5 separate regions of the Homo sapiens genome follow, and all the other regions are linked to region 2. The links are contacts of gene promoters, found by promoter capture Hi-C in blood cells and fetal thymus (Javierre and others, 2016). All regions are on one chromosome and are shown on one strand. The core of a region is centred on a gene start or on the middle of the fragment in contact, and the rest is flanking DNA. Distances in the headings are between cores, read along the strand shown. Region 1 has its middle 700 kb from the start of MIR548M. Region 2 holds the start of PCDH19 (protocadherin 19). Region 3 overlaps DIAPH2 (diaphanous related formin 2). Region 4 overlaps LOC105373294 (a long non-coding RNA gene). Region 5 overlaps DIAPH2 (diaphanous related formin 2).

The links. The method cuts DNA at HindIII sites, captures the fragments that hold promoters and counts their contacts. A CHiCAGO score of 5 or more calls a contact.
Region 1: a fragment that was not itself captured here is called in contact with the fragment with the promoter of PCDH19 in region 2 in 1 of 17 cell types (M0 macrophages); the score reaches 5.6 in M0 macrophages.
Region 3: a contact is called between a fragment that was not itself captured here and the fragment with the promoter of PCDH19 in region 2, in 3 of 17 cell types (total B cells, naive CD4 T cells and naive CD8 T cells). The highest score is 6.1, in total B cells.
Region 4: a fragment that was not itself captured here is called in contact with the fragment with the promoter of PCDH19 in region 2 in 1 of 17 cell types (naive CD8 T cells); the score reaches 5.7 in naive CD8 T cells.
Region 5: a fragment that was not itself captured here is called in contact with the fragment with the promoter of PCDH19 in region 2 in 1 of 17 cell types (endothelial precursors); the score reaches 6.1 in endothelial precursors.

Annotation. Positions count from the first base shown.
Region 1 is chrX:95,762,086-95,765,906 of GRCh38, forward strand. No RefSeq gene overlaps it. Among named protein-coding and RNA genes, the nearest start is that of MIR548M, 700 kb to the left of the region's middle. The HindIII fragment of the contact is 4,443 bases long and covers 1-3,821 here.
Region 2 is chrX:100,408,903-100,412,847 of GRCh38, forward strand. PCDH19 (protocadherin 19) reads right to left here and starts at 1,371. Exons shown (of 6, transcript NM_001184880.2): 1 at 1-1,371. The HindIII fragment of the contact is 4,339 bases long and covers 1-3,553 here.
Region 3 is chrX:96,758,804-96,762,838 of GRCh38, forward strand. All of the region lies in intron 4 of DIAPH2 (diaphanous related formin 2), which reads left to right. Among named protein-coding and RNA genes, the nearest start is that of DIAPH2, 76 kb to the left of the region's middle. The HindIII fragment of the contact is 866 bases long and covers 1,397-2,262 here.
Region 4 is chrX:96,371,853-96,375,827 of GRCh38, forward strand. The region is part of intron 1 of LOC105373294 (a long non-coding RNA gene); the gene reads right to left. Among named protein-coding and RNA genes, the nearest start is that of DIAPH2, 310 kb to the right of the region's middle. The HindIII fragment of the contact is 4,195 bases long and covers 1-3,493 here.
Region 5 is chrX:97,016,805-97,020,643 of GRCh38, forward strand. All of the region lies in intron 17 of DIAPH2 (diaphanous related formin 2), which reads left to right. Among named protein-coding and RNA genes, the nearest start is that of RPA4, 130 kb to the left of the region's middle. The HindIII fragment of the contact is 6,977 bases long and covers 1-3,839 here.

The DNA.
Region 1 (3,821 bases), core at 899-3,398, 4.6 Mb before region 2:
GAACCCACACATTAGCCTGGCTTACACAGGGTCAGGATCATCAATAACACTGTCTTCTGCCTCCACATCTTGTCCCACTGGAAGGCCTTTGGGGGCAATAATACACATGGAGCTTCCACCTTCTATGATAACAATGTCTTTTTTCTGGAATACCTCCTGAAGGACCTGCCTGGGCTGTTTTACAGTTAACTCTTTTCTAAATAAGGAGTACACTCTAATCATAAAGGTATAGTATAGTATAGTATAGTATTAATAGTAATAAATACATTAACCTGTAATGTAATCGTTTATTATCATTATCAAGTATTGTACACTGTACATAATTGTATGTGCTGTCCTTCTATATGAATAGCAGCACAGTAGGTTTGTTCACACTGACATCACCATAAGTACATGGCAATGTTTTGTACTATGACATTTTGACAGCTACAATGCCACCAGGCAACAGGAATTTTTCAGCTTCATTATAATCTTAAGGAACCACTATCACATATGTGATTTGTCATTGACCCAAACATTATGGGCTGTATGACTGTATTTGCATTTGTTTTAATGACAAGTAAAAACTCTTCAAAAGTAGAATTCTTATTTTAAATATATTTCTATCTTCTTCAGTGCCTAACACAAGCTCTTGCACATGTGATATTTTAGAGTTTTATAGTTGAGCCCTATTTATTTCCTAAAGGATTTGAAGAAACTATCTGTTTTTGATAGAATGATTGTGTCCCTCCAAAATTCATATGTTGAAGCCCTAACTCCCAGTGTGATGGTATTTGGAGATGGGGCCTTCCAGAGGTAATTAGGATGAGATGAGGTCATGACAGTAGAGCCCCCTAGTGCCCTTATAAGAAGAGACACCAGAACTCGCTCTTTCACTCTGTTTCTCTCTCTCTCTCTCTCTCTCTCTGTCTTCTCTCTGTTTCTGCACATGCACAAAGAAAGGGGTCATGTGAGCACACAACCTACAAACCAAGAGGCCTCAGGATGTAATCTGTTTTGTTGGCACCCTGACCTTGGACATTCCAGCCTCCAGAACTACGAGAAATAAATTTCTGTTGTTTAAGCCTCCCAGTCTGTTACGGCAGCCTGAGGTGACTAAAACCTATCAAAATAAAGTGTAATGCAATTCATGATAATTAATATGATAAACAGAATAGGGATCATCAAAGAGATCTGGAGAAACTTAATGTTCTTGGGTACCTGAGATATATTAGTTACTACTGTTTGGGACTGACATTTTCTTCATTTTCTAGCTACTAAGACACAATGGGAAACATGCTGGATTACATAGTATTGATGATTTGAAAAAAAAAAGCAAACATTCTACTCATTTTAAAACTTTGTCTAGAATGATAACACCAAAATATAGAAGCTAGGTGGAAAAGCCTCAGGAGCCAGCCCAAGGGTTATGATTAAATACATCAATCCAATAGAAGGCCTAAGGTGTGGGTGGCATTTGAATAAGAGCCATTAAGTCACCCACAGAAACAAGTTTTCACCCTCTCTCACTTTGAAAAGGTGTCCTATGTCTAGTCGAATAAGCATCAACCTTCACTGTTGGAAAGGTCCAATAGTTCAAAAATAACTTTTACCAATTTTGCTGAAATGCCTAAATGTCCACTTAAGATTGGAGGGAAACTGTCTCCAATAATTTACCATTAAGATGCAGATTAAACTTCTCATTTAATAAATGTCAAAAACTTTTAAAAATGTTTCAGTATGCATGGAAGTTTATTTTATGCAGTGACAACTGATATGAGAAAATATTTGGGAAATTTTTTATAAAAAGAAAATTTAAATGAATGTTGCAATATTCTTTTAGGATTGTGAGCTATGCACTAATTTTGAACACAAAAAAACTTTTTGTCTTGCAGTAAGTAGCCAGTGAACATATTTTTGTTTATTTTAGAATTTTTTTAGAATTATAGAATACAAGTTTTTCATGTTCTGGACATCTATCACCATTTGACTTCGACTAAACTGTAAATGGTATAGGAAATTGGGCTGATTGCTTATTGATATCTGTCATGACATACCCTGAGATTTTCTTTCTTGATTAAACCCTTACTATCACAAAGCTGTCTGCTAACTTGCCTCTTTCTTCTAAAAATTGAGTATGGATACTACAATGGTAGACAGATAACATTGTACATTTATCCAAACCCTTCAAATGTATAATAAATACCAAGAGTGAACCCTAAGGTCAAATATGAACTTTGAGTGATTACAATATGTCAGTGTAGGTTCACCAATTTTAACAAACCACTCTGGTGGGGAATGTTGATGACAGAGGAGGCTATGCACGTGTGGAAGGCAGGGAGTATATGGGAAATCTGTATCTTTCTCTCAACTTTTTTGTGAACCTGAAACTGCTCTACAAAATAAAATGTTCCTAAAAAATGGATAGAGAAAAATGAATTTCAATGTGTGAATGTTTTTGATTAACTATACTCAAATTAATTGGTGTGTTATTGCTTCACGAGAAACAATACATAGGGAAAGAAAAAGGCAGACCCAAAATATTTTTTTAAATTAAAATCAGTGTCCAATTCACAATCATAAACAAATACTGCAATACTCAATTAATTGCCTTCTTTCAAAATTCTTTCCAAAAGTTTCCACAAACTAGTTGTCACTGTATAAAAGAAGTTGCTATATGTACAATGGTAACCATGTTATCCTTCATATTATCTGCATAATGCATGCTTAATTCATTCTTGTGCAAAACATAATTGGAATGTAGCAAAATTTAGCCTCTCCAAAGCATCATTATTATATGAAATGCATACAGTCAAAGCATAGATACTGCCACAGTGGGGGAAAAAAGGAAGAAAATAAAGAGAAAAATAGAATTTGGTTGCTATTATTTGAGGATTGCATGACCACTAAATCCGTCATAAATAGTTTTAAATAAACTGTGTGACTTACAGAATCCTAGCCTTCCTAGTTTGTGTCCCTACTTTATGGCCAAAAGGTGGCACTGTTCCATTTATTATGAGTTTGGCATCTAGTCCATGGTGCTGTAGTCAGTCACTCTGTAATGTTCACTGAAACTAGCAAGGCGTTCATCATTAACCATTCTGCTTCACAGGCCCTGATATCAAAAGGATCATACCAGCAGCTACTCTGACATAACTCATTAAGAAACTGTTGTAAATAAGAATCTTGTAGAAAAGCATAGCGGCAGGTTAAATCAGCTCCCCTACCTTGGAAGGAAACTAAATCCTTGTGGCTGACCTGCTGTTGGGAAGAAATAAATTACTATTTGCATCACAAAGGATGGAGGCATTCCACCAAGCAGGGAGACAGCTACAGTTAAGACTCTGTGGCATTTGATTCACTTTTCTCTCCAAGCCCCATCCAAGCAAGGTGATTTATTCTCATGAGCAATGACTGAAATGTTTACTTATTCACCTGGTCAGGCAGCCAGCCACATGCACATCTTAAACAGCTATGGGAAAATGATTTTAACTGACCTTAGAGGATCCTGATTAAAAGCAAGACAGGTGTCTAACTTTCTGAAACAAATTAGCTAAATGAAAAAAAGAAAAACCTAACTGGAGACTTTACCCAGTGTCTCATCAGCATGCAACAACAGTTCTTTATGGTTTAAATCAAACAAGAAAAAGAAGATCCTAATACAAATGCAGAAGCGATCAGTGAAATGTCCCATCGCCTACTACACAGTCAGCAGCAGGGGATAGAGAAAGGGGTTGTTCAATATCTCTTCTTTTTGGTAGAAACATGATGGCTATGAATGAAGAAGTAAGATGCAGCTCCCTAAGCATTATACTCTACAAAATACTAACAGTATACTAAAC
Region 2 (3,945 bases), core at 121-2,620:
CAAAGTTAGCCGGGCGCGACTGTCGGCAGCCGCCCAGGGCTGCGGGTCGGGCGGCGTCTGCGCGGCCTGGAGGACGCACCGCTGAGTCCGGACAGTACTTGAGGCGAAGGTAAAGAGGGCGGAGGAGGCGCAGCCTTTCAGGCACTGCCCGGCCCGCCGCGGTGCACCGGCACTGAGGCTGGCGAACTCGCTGTCTGTGCACCTGGCATGCGCAAAGACCTCCCCCCAGCGCTCCCAGTTCACTGCGGAGAGAGTACCCGCTTGGAATGCGCCCTCCGGGGTCTGGGGGGGCCACACTGGCCTCTTCGAGGCCTGTTCGGGAGAAAGGGGGTGTCGCAGACGGGAGTCAGTTACTGGCAAGCGCCGCGGGCACCCGGTTATAGGGTTGAGTCGGATGGCGGTCCCGGGGCCAGCAGAGGAAGGGGGAGGGGAGAGAGGCTGCCAGAGCTTGAGCGCGCTCCCTCGCGCTAAGGCTGGCTTCGAAGGGCTTGGGGGCGCGTCTGTCCAGGATCCGAGGTGGGAGCGGAGTTCCCCCCACAGAGCAGTTGAGGGTCTGCGGGCGTTTTCGTCTAGGAAATCAAAGTTAACAACGCAGTCCGACCCTCCACGTCAAGTTTGTGGAAACGGGGAGATGGCAATTTGTCCAAGAAAATCAAAGCCCCGGTCTTTCTAATGGCCGGGGGTGGCGGGGAATGGGGAAGAGGGAAGGGGAGGCAACAACAGTACCGGCCAGGAGAGGCGGGGCCGCCGCCGTGGGTACCGGGTGCTTCTCTTCTCTCCGTTTGGGCTGGGGTGTCGCTCCAAGGTCCGCCGCCGCCGCCGCCGCCGCCGCCGCCGCGGGAGGAAGCCCTCCTAGCTCAGTTGCACGTCGCTGGGGTCCGCCTCAGCAGCTGCCACAGTCGACGATTTTGTCGCCGCCGAAGTTTACTTGCAGGAGCGTCTTGATTTCATCTTCCCGGAGAGGCGCTGGCCGCGCTGCGTTGGGCTCCCTTCCTCCCGGGCGCTCGCGCACTCGGGAGGTCTGTCTCGCTTTCTCTGTCTGTCTCGGGCTGTGTGTGAATGTGTGAGAGAGAGAGGAAGAGTGAGTGTGTGGTGTGGGGAGTGTGAGTGTGGAGTATGAGCAAGCAGGAGGCAATGGGTTTGGGGTAGGAGGTTTAGGATTTCGGATGAAATCGCTCAGCCGGAATGCTGCGGAGCGCAACGCGCCAAGGGCCAGCGCCGGGCTAGGGACGCGGGTGCCAGTGCCTCCCGGGCAAGCCAGGCATGGTGCACGGGAGCTGTGCTGCCGTCTGTGCCCGCTCGTCCGTCTCCGCGCTGCGCCAGCCGCCGCCGCTACTGCTGCTGCTGCTCCTCCGGATGCCGCAAACTACTGGCCGCGGAGTCTGGAGAAAGCCGGAGAAAGCTCAAGCTGCCGAGCCCGGCTACGCCAGGCCCTGGCCAATCAGCGCGCCGCCAGCGGGCTCCAGTCTTGGGGCGGGGCCAAGCGGAGGCGGGGGGTAGCGGGGGGGCGGGGCCAAGCGGAAACTTCACACCGGCGGGACCAAGTGGTACCCCGGCCCATGGAGCCCTGGCGGGATTCATGGGAGGACGGACAGACAGGCCAGGCAGGCCAGGCAGGAGCAATAGGGCAGGAATGAGCAGGGAGGCGGTGTGCTGGCGCTGCGGCTGAGCCTCGCCGGGAACTGTGCGCTTCTCATGTTTGCAGAGATTTCAGGAAAGATGAGGATGATATGATTGTCTTATCGTGTTTACCTCCCTTACATATCTTCATATCTTGAATATAATATATACATATATATACACATATATATATATATACACACATATATATATCCCTCTATTTCTCCTTGTCTCTTCACCCTAAAAAATCGTCTGTTTTTGTTTTCCTCTCTTCTCATTCTCTGGTAGTGGAAGGAAGAAAGGGAAGGAGAAAGCGCCCCTGAGGTGGTCATTCATCCAGCTCTTAGCCGGTGTGTCTTCACATCAGGCCAGAGCCACGGCCGCCACCCCCCCGGACCGTCACCCCCATCCTTCCACCCCGGGCAGACGCCGCACTACTCTCTGCGTGCCGCACTCCCAGCAGGGCCCCTGGATCGGTTCGCTCTTGTCTGTTGCTTGTTAATCAAATGGGATATGTGGCACAGAGAATGAGCTACGGAGGGGGCCGGACACATTTCATTGCCCCTCACCCCACCCTGTTGGAGAATTTAGCTCCCTATAAATAAACTGTACGTTTGAGAAGAGCCGGTGGAGCGGACGCCGCCGCGCCGCGCCAAGCCAGCAGAGCTCAAAGCCGGGCAGGAGCTCTGGGGCGGGCACGCCATACATGTCCGCTTAGGTCGCCGACAGCTGGGAGCCGGCGCCGATGTGCAGGGCGCCCCAGCCTTCCCGCGGGGTCTCGGTCCCAGGGGGCTGCCAGCTCCACTTGGGCGGCGGTGGTGGCTGCGGCATGTGCCAGTACTGGGAAGCGGGAGGCCGGCGTGGCCAGGGCTGACATCAAGCTCATCCTGCCTTCTGCACTGAAGGCTCCCTGGGGGCAGCGGGGCATTCCTCCCCACCCGGGCTCTGAGGCTTTTAATTAAGGTCGCCAGCGGCAAAAAAATCAAAAACGTGCCCGTTAAACAAGTTTTTTTTTCTCTTAGAATGTGGGGAAGCTGCTTCTGAATTCACAATTCTTGGAAGAGTAAAAATGTCTTCTGAGTGAGTCGTCTCGGATATTTGGGAGTGGGATAAGCAGACTCATAATTAGCCCAGCGACATTGGCTCGAGCCTGTGGGCTTCACATGAGCGTCATTTTTGCCCTCTAAAAAGCGTTAAACAAGAAAAGGAAACCGGCATTTGGACACATAATGGGTTTTCTCAAAACTGCCATCTTCTTGTGGAGAGCAACCCAGCTGCTTTTTAAAATATTTTTCCTTCCAAGAAGAGCTACTTTAGCAGCCTTTACCTTGGCGGTGGGAGAGGGGAAAGGCGGCTTCCTCTTACAGAAAGAAATTATTTCGCGAGTGAGATTGCGATCCCCTGAATATGTAGCCGAGGCCAAAGGGAGAGCGTAGGGAGCCTGATCCGCTTTCCGCGTGGGGGTCGTTTCACTGTTTCACGTTAGGATGTGATTCGGCCCAGAACAACAGGGAGAAAACCGATGCTTCTGCAATGAGTATCATTTAATTTTGGTCATTTAGAGCTGCGGGTGGACACCAGAGTGGTGGCTCAAGGGAGCCCGGTGGCCCGACCGGTTTTCTCCAGACACCGTTGGAGAAATGGGCAAGTAGTAGAGAATGACAACATGGCAGGCAGCGGTGGGCGCACCTCGCGGGCTCCGCGAAAGGAAGGGTTCCATTTGATTTATCACAGTTATTTACCTTTGATGTCAGAGCATGGGAATGAAGTGCATCTTGGTCTAATTAAAAAGGCCTAAAAAGGCATTTGAAATGGGTTTGCTATCTGATCACGGGATGTGAATTCGGCGTTTGGCAGCTTTCTAAAATATTGCTTGGACTATTTAAACAGAACAATTAGCAGCATGCTAAAATGTTTGCATGCTATGCTTAGAAGCTTTTAGCTGTAAACTTTAAGGCGATCTGTTCCCCCTTTAAGTTAAAAAAGGATGATGCTGCTTCCTTGTGGCGAAGGCTGTCAGGAACCCACTGATCAATAAAAGTAAACTGGCGCCTCCACGGCTTGATTGAGCGGGAGCAAAGAGTCTGAGAAGTAGTCTCGGCCATTAACAATCCCCCAGGTAACGAGAAATGGAAGAATTACTCAGGTAAAATGATTAACATTGTCGTAGCATCTGAAAAGATGCACACAACAAGATAAGAAGACTGCAGACCTCTTACCTTAGGGAGTGCTAATAGAATGTCTATATTCTGCTGTCTTTTAAAGATAAATAGGAGAATTCAATTCATGTACAATGTCATTACCTTCATAATTGCAATCACAATG
Region 3 (4,035 bases), core at 580-3,079, 3.6 Mb before region 2:
AATCAAATCTGTTTGTGAGTCCCAAGACTTGAAAGTAAAGTTCATTGAAAGGACTTGTTGTTATTAGGAAACTGTGTGTTTTAGTGGAGTATTTTGCTCTGTTCTCTTCCTAATGCACTTCCAAATATAGTCTTAAGCTTTGATTTTTTTTTTTTTGGTAAGAAAAAATTGTATTTTTGAAATAGCAAAATGCATCTTTTACATTTCTGTAAAGAAAAAGCTTTTAATACCTAGAGTTCATAAAATCACTGTATGTGTGTATATGTGTGTATATATATGTATACACACACAGTGATATTTTGTGTGTATACATATGCATGTACACACACATACACTATTTAGGTCATGTGTTTTAAATTTCATAAGTTGACCATTGCAGAAAACAAGTCTTCATTGAAAAAATATATTCTAAAGTTATTTGGCTATCCTATTAATGCTATTTCAGTACAGCAATTCCAGTGGCAATTACTAATGCATTTTGCCATGAATTCTACGATTGTATTGATTCTATATTGTACTTGAAACAAGCTAAATCTGAATGCTGAGCTATTTAAACATAACACATTGCAGCTCCGCCATAGCAGAGCAACAGCATGTTTTTAAATTTGCTTCTGGTATCCAAGGGCAGAAATATGTTTCAAGTGATAAGTGAAATTTGCCATGAGCGTCGTTTTCAATAGAATTAGGTGATGCATAGGGTTTTACTTTGAAATTCTGATGAATCTCTTCTCATTTTTGCACTCAAGTTATTGTTCACCATAAAATGCTTTAGGAAATGCAGGATGTACATTCAATGTTATTTTTCAAAGACCTAAAGGCTGATACACTAGTAAATCTATATGACTGAATCTGAGTGCAAAGTACAGATAATAACATATGAATAATCATGTGGTGGTTTTAATGATAAGATTTTGTTAGAGTCTCTGGCTCATTTGTTGTTGTTTGTGTAAGTGGGACTGAATATAATGATTATATGAAACTCTTATTCCTTGACCTTTTGAGTATTACATGATTTCTGTGCAGAACTTGTTTTCATTTATTCTCATATTATTTCCTCTTCAAGTGACCAAAGAAATGCACACTTCAAGTTATATACTGATTTTTCAGATTAAAATGCAAAAAATTGGATAAATATTAGATGAGCTCACTTGAACTGCATTATTCAAAAGATGGAAATTCAATGTTCCTCAAAAGACATGAAAATTCTATGTTTAAGGCATTAGCCTCAAAATCAGAACTACTTAAGGGCCCTTATTTGTTTCATTCAGTGTACATATGAGCACCTGAAATATGCACAGCACTCTGATAAGATTTCCAGGATTATACATATTTTTGCTAATATTTTTCGTGGGCCAGATACTATGATGGAAGAAAGCCTGTTGACAAGCATTTTTGAAGCTTTCTCATCTTGGAAAGACGTTAATTAGTACTATGTTTTCTATCATTAAAACCACAAAAATTAGTTATGTAATTTCCTTTTGAAGGTGAGAGGGTTGGCCTTCAGTGACAAACAATAATCTAACCTTTTTACCTTTTCATTATCACAGCACTAAAGTTTGCATTTAGAGTAGACATGATAGTTACCACTACTTTATGAAAATGCTTTCTAGTTAGTCACAGCTTTCATCTTGAGGTAGCAAAGTTAAGAGCTAGAGTCCCTGGTGGAGAAATGTTTTATAGTCACATGTAAAACATGTGAGAATTGTAGTGAAATTTAAACGTAAATCATACATTTTCCCCGTTTAACACCTGCATTAATCATTTTGTATGGGATCTAAAACCAGATTTTAGATAGAAATGTCTATCATGCTCCTGGGTTCTTGAGTAAGGACATAAAAGTAAAATGAAGCTATACACCAATATGTGGTCAAAACTCGTTTCTAAAGCAAACAAGAGTCTTTTGTCGTATAATTAACTTTGCTAAAATTAGCATGGAAAAGGAGACTATAAAGGAAACCATAAGATAATAATAAAAACTATTGCTTAGTTTTTTCTTCTCGAAGTCCCATAATAGAGAATGTTAAATTGTGTGAATGTTAAAGGAAAAAGTTTGAATAACTCTGTCCATGATGAATGAACTTTAAATAGAGGGATGGAGAAGAACCTTCTTTCTGCATTTTATCCTCCATTGTTCATTGTAGGAAGCGTAGTTATGGATCTGACGTAGGGTAATAGGAATATGTAGATAATTTGACCACAAATAACCTGGAAGAGTCTATATTTTCAAAACACCAGCATATGTTTTCAGAAAATGGAAAACCAAGCTTTGTTAATATTGCAAAAGTTGTCCTACCGATTGGTAATCCTGAAACAATATGTTGGTAATTTAGAGGGGATCTCACGGGCACTTAACAGCACATATAGACATTTATGAGGAAAAGTTATTCACCGAAGTCCCAACGTTAGTTTGTCAAATGCCAGTGTCATTCCTAGAATGTTAAGGGATTGGTTTATTTTGAATTTAAATCATAATCTTTGAAATTTTAAAATATGTAAAGTTATATTTTTTAAGACATGTGAACCATTGAGAGGCAGCATTGGTTTTTTTTTTTTTAATCTCAGTAGGAAATAATTTAAAATAGTGGTGCTAGCTACATCTGCAGATTTGTTAGACTGACCTGTATAATGAGTAGTTAAAAGTTGCAGTATATCTATATGTGTATGTGTATACATGTATTATGGTTTTGCTTTTGTCATTATCAGATACTCTTTCAGCTCTTTTCCAGGTATGATCTGGATATGATCAAACAGTTGAACCCAGACATGGCCAAAATATTTTCTCTTAGCTTCTGTTGGGTACTAAATCTTATCTATTGCCGTTTGTGCTTTAGCTAAATGCAGTTATTTTGCAATGCAAATGAATCATTAAATGGGCCATATTCTGGTTGTTTCACTGAGTATAGACCTGCTTTAATTGTTAACGCAGGCTCACATTCTTTTGTTAGTCTCATGTCTGTGCTAAATAAACAAGGGACAAATACGACCTCTGTCTTTTCGGTGGGAGGAAATAATTGAGGTCAATAGCATATCTTTTAATTCAGAAGACTGTTAATGGCACCAAAGAGGCTTTTATTCAACTAAATAATCACTGCTTGTAAATAGTCTACTGAATGAATATTTAAGAAAGCTGCTTCTGTATTCTGAGATTCATGGATTCTTCTGAAATAATTTACTTGGAAACTGTCATTATCTTTTTGTATTTTATGATATCCTTTTCAACATAGGATTCTTACTGGGGTTTCAGTTAAATTTGATTTTTATTTTTAAAGCACTAGCTGAAAAATAGAACACATTTTGATAATAACTGCTATCGGATTAATGGTTTTGTATTGTGGCTTAGCTGTTTTTTGGACACTGCTTGATATTCAAGTGTGGGAATCTGATAACAGTGATTTGATTTATATTTGGATTTTTGGATAAAATTATGTTTAGGACTATGAGTTTACTTCCTGCTTTCTTAAACACAATTCTGCCTCTCAGAAATTCTTTTATCACTTATCCATTAGGAAAGCTCAGTTGGAGCTGCAATTTTTGAACTATTTCCTCCTTCTGAACATGTGCATGTTTAGATGTAAAATGCTTCTTTGTCTTCACATTATGTAGAAAATTCTGATCTTATAATAGAAATGCTAGGATTACCTAGAAAACTAGAATAATAAGTAATCTATCTTTTTTATAATTTTCAAGTATAATATAAAACAGTATCGTACACCTTAAATTTATAACAATAAAAAATATTTGTTTTCAACCTAAAGTTTACTTCTGAACTTAATGCATGACTTTAAATGTAACATTTATATACTAAAATACCTTAATAGTATACCTGCCATAAGAAGGTGTACTATTTCAACCTTGATAGTATACCTGCCATAAGAAGGAAAGAAAAGAAAAGGCAATATTGGAAAAAACAAAATTTCTATTGATAATTTTTTCAGGGACTATGAGCTGGTAAAAAAATCTGATGCCTGATTACACTTAACATTGCATAACTTGATATTTAGATTATACTATATGAGAAGCCCATTATAGTACATT
Region 4 (3,975 bases), core at 146-2,645, 4.0 Mb before region 2:
AATTCCAGCAAACACTACATCAAATTTGTAGCTAGGGCTGATTCATGTTATAATGTTCACTCTCAGATCTTTGTCTCCAGAAAGCCTACTCCACAGTTTATGAAGCTGGATAGACAAGAGTTATGCATAACCTCAGAAAAGCTAAGGGGCATCACATTCACTGGTATGGATCAGTGGTCAAATAGTTAATTATTTTGCTCACAGCAAAGAAGGAAGATTTTTCCATTTGAAGATTTTTTTACCCTATATACAACAGATTTGGGGAATGTACTGTATACTGTGCATCAGTTGGTTTAAAAAAATTACTGCAATCAACCTCCTAAAAACAGACATTGCAAAGGCTTATTACATTATTTTTAATACTTCTAAAATTCTATAAGAGAACAGATACAGTTCAGTTAAAAACAAACTCAAAATCCTAGGAGTATGAATCATTAAACATGCATACATAATGCCCAGACATCCCCTGAAAACATTGGGATTAAAGAAAAGAGGCTATGGTTTCTATAGAGAAATGCAAAAATCAAAAACACTTTTATCTGAAGTACAGGCTACCAGAAGCATAGGCTTAAGGGATCCTAAAGCAGCATAAATCAGCCAGGCAGACTGAAACCAACTGACCTACCTGTCAGGACCAAAGCAGAAGGCACTGCCGAGATCTATGGGGGAAAGGGGGAAGTGCATGGGGCCAACAGCATGCCACAGTAAATGCACTGTCGTCCTGCTGCACTGCAATTGCAGAATGGAGCTCAGGAAGACGGAGAAAGATGTTTGCTGCTCATCCACTTAAATATTAAGAAGTAGCCAAATAGTTCTCATCTTAGCCCTATGCTTGGCTACCAAGGAATGCCGTGGTGTATATCAATACCCATGGGTTACATCTCCGAAAATAACCCCAGTTGCTTCTCACAGAGGCTGAATAGACCTTTTAGAAACTTTGGGCCCAGCTATAAACCTTAAAAAAGGTAAAAATTTAAACTATATATATTTCCTACAAAGGGTTTATGTTTCGTTTGGTGGTGGTTCCTGTTGTTTCTAGCAGTAATAACTCGGCTGCAGTAATCCTGCAGCCAAGAAATTTTGCAACCTTCCCACTAGGAGGAGCTACAGGAACACAAGGATCAAGATTTGAAATGCTAGGGCTCTGGTTGTCAGGCTATAGTTTATGAGAAAACTATTTTCCAATTTACTTCAAGTAAGCGCTGGTCAGAACTATTTTAGAGCCCCACAAATGCAATCCAACTAATTTCAACCAATACCGTTTAAGCACCTACTGTGAGCAAGGCTCATTGCTAGATGTAATGAGGGACATGAAGATAAGTGACCCACAATACCTGCTCTCAAGTAGCTCATAAATTAGTGGTGGGGAGAGGGGGAAGGAAGGACAGGTGGCTACAACATATTCAGAACTACCTGTATTACAGCATGGAGTGTGATAAACTGCACAATGACGAATCTGAAAATAAAGCGACATTGTATTGATAAGGAGGATAAATCATACTTGGGTTGGGGGAAAAGTAGGAATTAGGAAATAGTCTCATGGACACCCTCAGCACTGTGAGTGATGGGAAGCATGCAAGTGCTTATTATATAATCTCAGAAATAGAAACCATTCAAGAGTTTAGGACCTTCTTTTGCTAGGTGGTTTCCGAATGCCCAAAAATAAAACAGATGGTCTCTGCCAATGATAGAAAGTTTCCATATGGCAGGTGCTTGGCTCCAGTGGATGCCTTGAGAGGAGGCCCATTGCCCCACACATTGTGTCCTCCACAATGAAATAGAGAAAACCATGACTTATATGACTATGATGTTTAATTGTATGTGTCATCTTGGAAGGTGTTTCTGAATCAAGTTAACATTTAAATCAGTGAACTGTGCATAAAGCAGACTGATCCTTGTAATGTGGGTGGGCCTCTTCCAATCCGTTGAAGGCCTCAATAGAACAAAAAGACTGGCCTGCCCAAACAAGAATGAATTATCCAGCACACTGCTTTCAGATTTTATGTGCACCATCAGCTTTCCTGGGTCTCTAGGCTGCCAGCCTTCCTACTGGAACTGGAATATCAGCTCTCCTAGGTCTCAATCCAGCTGGCCCACACTCTAAATTTTAGGCTTGCCATCCTCCATAATCATGTGAGTTAATTCTTTTCCTAATAGGATGTGTATGCATATAGAAAAAAATTTTTCTATATGCATACATATCCTAAGGAAAAGAATCTTATTGTCTCTGTTTCTCTGGAGAATCTTGACTAATACAAAGACTTTCTGGCATGCAGCTCATATTTGTGTATAAGAGTATTATATGATAATAAAGTATAGTAACTACAGTCTCTCATCATATGTGGTTCTTACTATGAAACCAGCTAAACAGAAATATTTCTCTGTTGATCTTAGTCCCCCAAGAGTGGAAGAGTATATCTTGGACCACAAGTCAGCCACATTGCCCCTCTGTCCCTCTTCCTGCCCAAACATTCATCTCCCCTTTATATATGGGCAAAGGACTACCCTTGCAGAGGGTTAATGTCAAAGATCTCATCTGTCCTTCTTGCAATTTTCCAAGAAATGTGGCTACCATATAACATATAGGTCCTCTTTTCAATAATGAAAATGCTTCTTTATGAAAAAAGCCTGCATTTTCTCTTGCATTGTCCTGGATATGCAAAATAAATAGATGCAATAAGTCAATTCACTAAATTTAGGCATTTTGTGACATATTCATTTTGTGGGCATGTGAAAGAATGTGTATATTTCATGCAGAGAAGAACAAGACATGAAGAAGCAGTAGGAATGGCGATTGTGGATGTGGCTCTAGAGTCGCATAGCCATGAGGACCATTGCCTTCTTTAAAAGTTATCTCTGGCTTCTTCTTCCTATTTTTCTAACCATTTTGTCAAGGTAGAATTGACATATAAAAAGCTGTACATATTTAATGTCTACATCTCAATGAATTTGGGGACAAATATATACCCATGGAACTATCACCACCATCAAGACCATAAAAATATTCATTATCTCCAAGTTTCCTCCCTGCTCCTTTATTATTATTGTGCTGTGGAGTTTTTCATTTGTTTGGGGAGGTTTTCTTCTGGTAAGATCACTAAGATCTATCCTCTTAGCAAATTTTAAATATACAATATAGTACTGTCAGCTACAGGCACTATGCCGTATAGTAGATCTCCAGAATTTATTTATCTTGCATAACTGAAACCTTTAACCATCCACTGGAGAATAAGGTCCTGCTCCTTCCCTCAGGTGCCTTCTCTGTGCTGTACCATGTTTCTCAAAGTGTGAAATATAGGTAGATACCTCAGACCACAAAAGCTCCAAGGTTCCAGGGCTCAAACTCAGATCTACTGAATCTGAATCTTGAAGCATGGGCCCCAAGAATCTACATTTTTTAACATACCACTCACATACATTTAATGCACCCTGCACCCTAAAGGTTGTTCATCACTACCCTAGCCCACAGGCAGACTTACCATGAAACTAATGAAGCTTTAGGTCCCCCAACTTGCCCAGGTCCCTTCTAAGAATCTTCACTAATTTTTTATTGGTAAATGTTTATTTTTTTTATTTTTATTTTTTTTGAGACGGAGTCTCGCTCCGTCGCCCAGCCTGGGGTACAGTGGCCCGATCTCGGCTCACTGCAAGCTCCGCCTCCCGGGTTCACACCATTCTCCTGCCTCACCCTCCCGAGTAGCTGGGACTACAGGCCCCTGCTACCATGCCTGGATAATTTTTTGTATTTTTGGTAGAGGCGGGGTTTCACCGTGTTAGCCAGGATGGTCTCGCTCTCCTGACCTCATGATCCACCTGCCTCAGCCTCCCAAAGTGCTGGGATTACAGGCGTGAGCCACCGCGCCTGGCCAATGTTTATTCTTTTTTTAAAGATCCCTTCTCTAAAGTGTTTAAGTATTAGGTACCACAATACCTGGATGCACCCCTGCTTTGGGCCATATTTGCAAAGCAAGTCAA
Region 5 (3,839 bases), core at 935-3,434, 3.4 Mb before region 2:
TGCTTACATCATTATGCCCATCTACTTTGTTTATAGCTGCCTCAGCTCATGCTGCAAGTCTTCATGGTTGTGTGATAAGAAAGAGAATATATCAGTTTCACGGAGAAACGTGGTGGTGGTCTAGTCTTGCTGGTTAATGTTGAATGTGACTATTTTTTAAATCCTTGGCACGACTGGCAGTCTGTGAGGTGTGTCACGGGCCTCCATCATGGTGGTGGGTATGAAGCTGTGCACTACTTCTGTTTTTAACACCTTCCTTGGAGCTGCCTGAAGAAAATTGCAGGAATTTTTTAGGCACATCTACTGGAAAGTGCTTATTTTAATATTTGTCAACATAATTACCAGAAAACATTAACCCTGAAGTGTGTCTCTCAATACAAACTTGATAATCACTAAATATTTTTAATATAGGCCTTTGAGGAAAACATCGTAAATATCATTAGTCTTATTTTTCTCTATGAATTTTATTTACTATACATTAGTTGTTTAGAATTATCTTTTTTCTCCTTTGTTTGATGGTAGTGAGAGAAGAACACTACTTTTTGGAAGATTATAAATAGTACATTAAGTGAAAGGTCATAAATACTGTAAAACTTCAATAAAGCACTGGGCAACAACATGAATTCACATATGCATTGAATGGGGAGGAAGAGTTAGGAAGTGACCCTCAAGAATTTGGGACCTTCTTTGTTCATTTTACAGTCATATATGTTCAATGTAAGTTCCACTGTCCTTGTTTTAATGCTTTCATGAGATGATATAGATAAATTGAAATATATGGTTTTTAACTAAATTCAAGATAACACAAGTCTCCATTTTATGTAATTTAATTTTTTAGACTCCACCTGTGATCTTATGGCGCAGCTCGATGGCAGTTGGAGGTGCAAGTGATTCCCAATAATGAATCACCTTTCAAATGTTTCAATGATGATGTGATAGAAAAGACAGCTGCAGTAGTGTGACTTAAAAAGAAATTACCTGACTGCCCTTTTTTCCCAATTACTGGCACAATCTTCATGAAATCCAAATAAACTTAATAGAAGGAGGAAAAGCCATGTGAGTGGAGCTGACCTGCCACAAATTAATTATACTTAGTACTTTGTGCCAGCATGGCATGGTGGAGAGCCAGGACTCGAGAGAAACACATAAATATAGCAGGATCTTAGTTGCCTAGGTGAGCAAGGAAATTGCTGCTTGCAAAACATGTTGGAAGTTATTAGTTAGCATAAGATGTTTTAGCATTTGCATTTATTAATCTGACTTATGCATTTAAAATATGTTTCTGTATTTTACAAGACCAGATCTGGAGGAGGCTAAATGCCCCAAGTTTCCTTTCACACCAACATCATATGCTCATATATATTCAGTTGATTAATTATTTTAAATAAAGTGCAGCTGTCTTGTCATGTTAACAGGCCTCTAATTTTATTTGCCTATTCATATGTGAAACAGGAGAGGCTAGCATCTTAAAAATTCAGTGTAAAAGTTTATATGTACATGTTTATTTTATAACATTTTGGGGTGATTTTTAAAAATTATTTTTCAGACATTGTCAAATAAGGTAGTAAAACAAGATTCAGGTATTATTGGTTCTTCATTTTTATTTTTATGAGAAGTACTGCATTTGCTTTGCTGCTATTGCGACAGCATTGCCAGTAGACCAACATATACCACATATACTTTTGCTTTTAAATCCTGCTTAAGATACATTGATTTTAATAGAGGAAATTAGTGATATATTAAAAACCCATGAGCTTAATTAGCCATTCACGAATGACTAGTGCTATATTCTATTTGTTATTGTTTTAATTAACAGACTACTTTTTAAAGAGCATTTTAGGTTTACTGGAAAATTGCATGGAAAGTCCTATGTATATGCTCATCTCCTCCCTGCTCTCCAGTTTCCCCTATTATTATCTTGTATTAGTGTGGTACATTTTTTACACAATAATCAATATTGGTACATTACTAAAGTCCATAGTTCAGAGTTTACTCTCTGTGTTATATAGTTCTATGTGTTTTGACACATCATGTATCTACCATTTTAGTATCTTACAGATGGGTTTCACTGCCCTAAAAATCTTCCGTGCCCTACCTATTCATGCCTTCATTCCTCCCTCCAAACCCCTGACAACCACTGGTCATTTTTCTGTCTTCATGGTTTTGCCTAAATCTTTCCGGATTCTTTCACTGAGCTTCTGCTTCTTTCACTGAGCATTTAAGGTTGTTCCATGTCTTCCAATGGCTTGAAATCTCATTTCTTTTATCGTTGAATAACATTCCACCGTGTGGATGTACCAGCACCTACCAAAGGACATCTTGGTTGCTTCTAAGTTTTAGTAATTATGAATAAAGCTGCCATAACCGTTTGTGCTCAGGTTTTTCCTGTGTGTGTGGATATAAGTTTTAAACTCATTTGGATAAATACTAAGGAGTATGACTGCTCAATCATGGTAAGAGTATGTTTATTTTTATATGGCTGGTGCTACTTTATCCCTATCCCTCCAGTTTTATTTTGTTTTGTTTTTTGATATCGGATTAATAGAATTGAACTAATCACAATCCCTTTGTTCTTAACCCACTCTTATCATTGATTTGAGGGTGACTTTTTATTTAATTAGTTATTTATGATAATATAGTAAGTACTTCTGACCTCACCACCCAATACAAAATCTAGATCCTTGACAATCACATATTTCTTAAGTGTGTGTACTCCTTTGCATATTCCTTGCCTCCCCTAACCTGAGGCCAGTGCTATTTTAGTTTTAAATTTAATAATGTTTCCATATATATATTCTACATATATGGATGGAATTCTAATATATATACGGAATATATATATTCTAAGAGTTCAATGATTATTTAAGACATACTTCTCTAGAATAATCATCCAAATAATTTAAAACAAGATTTTGCCTCTGAATATGTAATAGGCATTAATAGATTTTCACTTGGATTTTCTAACATTAGTTTTTATCCATTTTGATGCCATTCCTAGTATTAATGATAAATTTTTCATTGGCAATATAAAAAGAAAGTCTTCTGCTAAAAAAACTAAGGCTGTTAGTGAAGTTATAAAAATCACAAAAGACTAGGATTGTCGCATCATTATGTGAAACAGATCCTTGGGGGAATACATCAGATTGTAATGCCACGACTCCTGTATTTTAAATCTACCTGCACCCTAAAGCTAATGGCAATAATGCCATTTCAACTGAAACATCAACTGGATTAAAAAAAATCCTAAAGGACAAGGAAAATTCAAGCTCTTGGCTATGCAGTGCTGCAGTTGACCCATTCACTTCTCTGTTCAGGTAATCTAGTTAACACAGGCTTCAGTATCAATTCATTTTAACAAAGGATGGTTAATGTCATTGTTTGTAACATTTTCTAGTGAGAATAAACCTGAAGCATACTATATAAATAAGCCCTTGCTTGCGCTGACTCAGGAACACAATTCTTAATTTACTTAGTGCTCTCTGCAGCTACTTGTGTATGTGTGTGCATGTGTGTGTGCATGTAGGTATATCTTATGGAACTTGCTTCTAATTAACAATACATTAGTCCTCGCTACTTCTAATTAGCAATGCGGTAGCCCTGCCTTATCCACAGGGGGATATAAAACCCACAATGAAACTGCGGATAGTACCGAACTCTGTAAATACTATGTTTTTTTCAAATACGTATGTATTTACAACAAAGTTTAATTTGTAAATTAGCCATAGTAAGAAACTAACAGCTATAATAATAAAGTAGAACAATAAAAACAGTATGCCAGCATCACTACTCTTGTGCATTAGGGCCGTTATAAAATAGGGTTACTTGAACACTAGCATGTT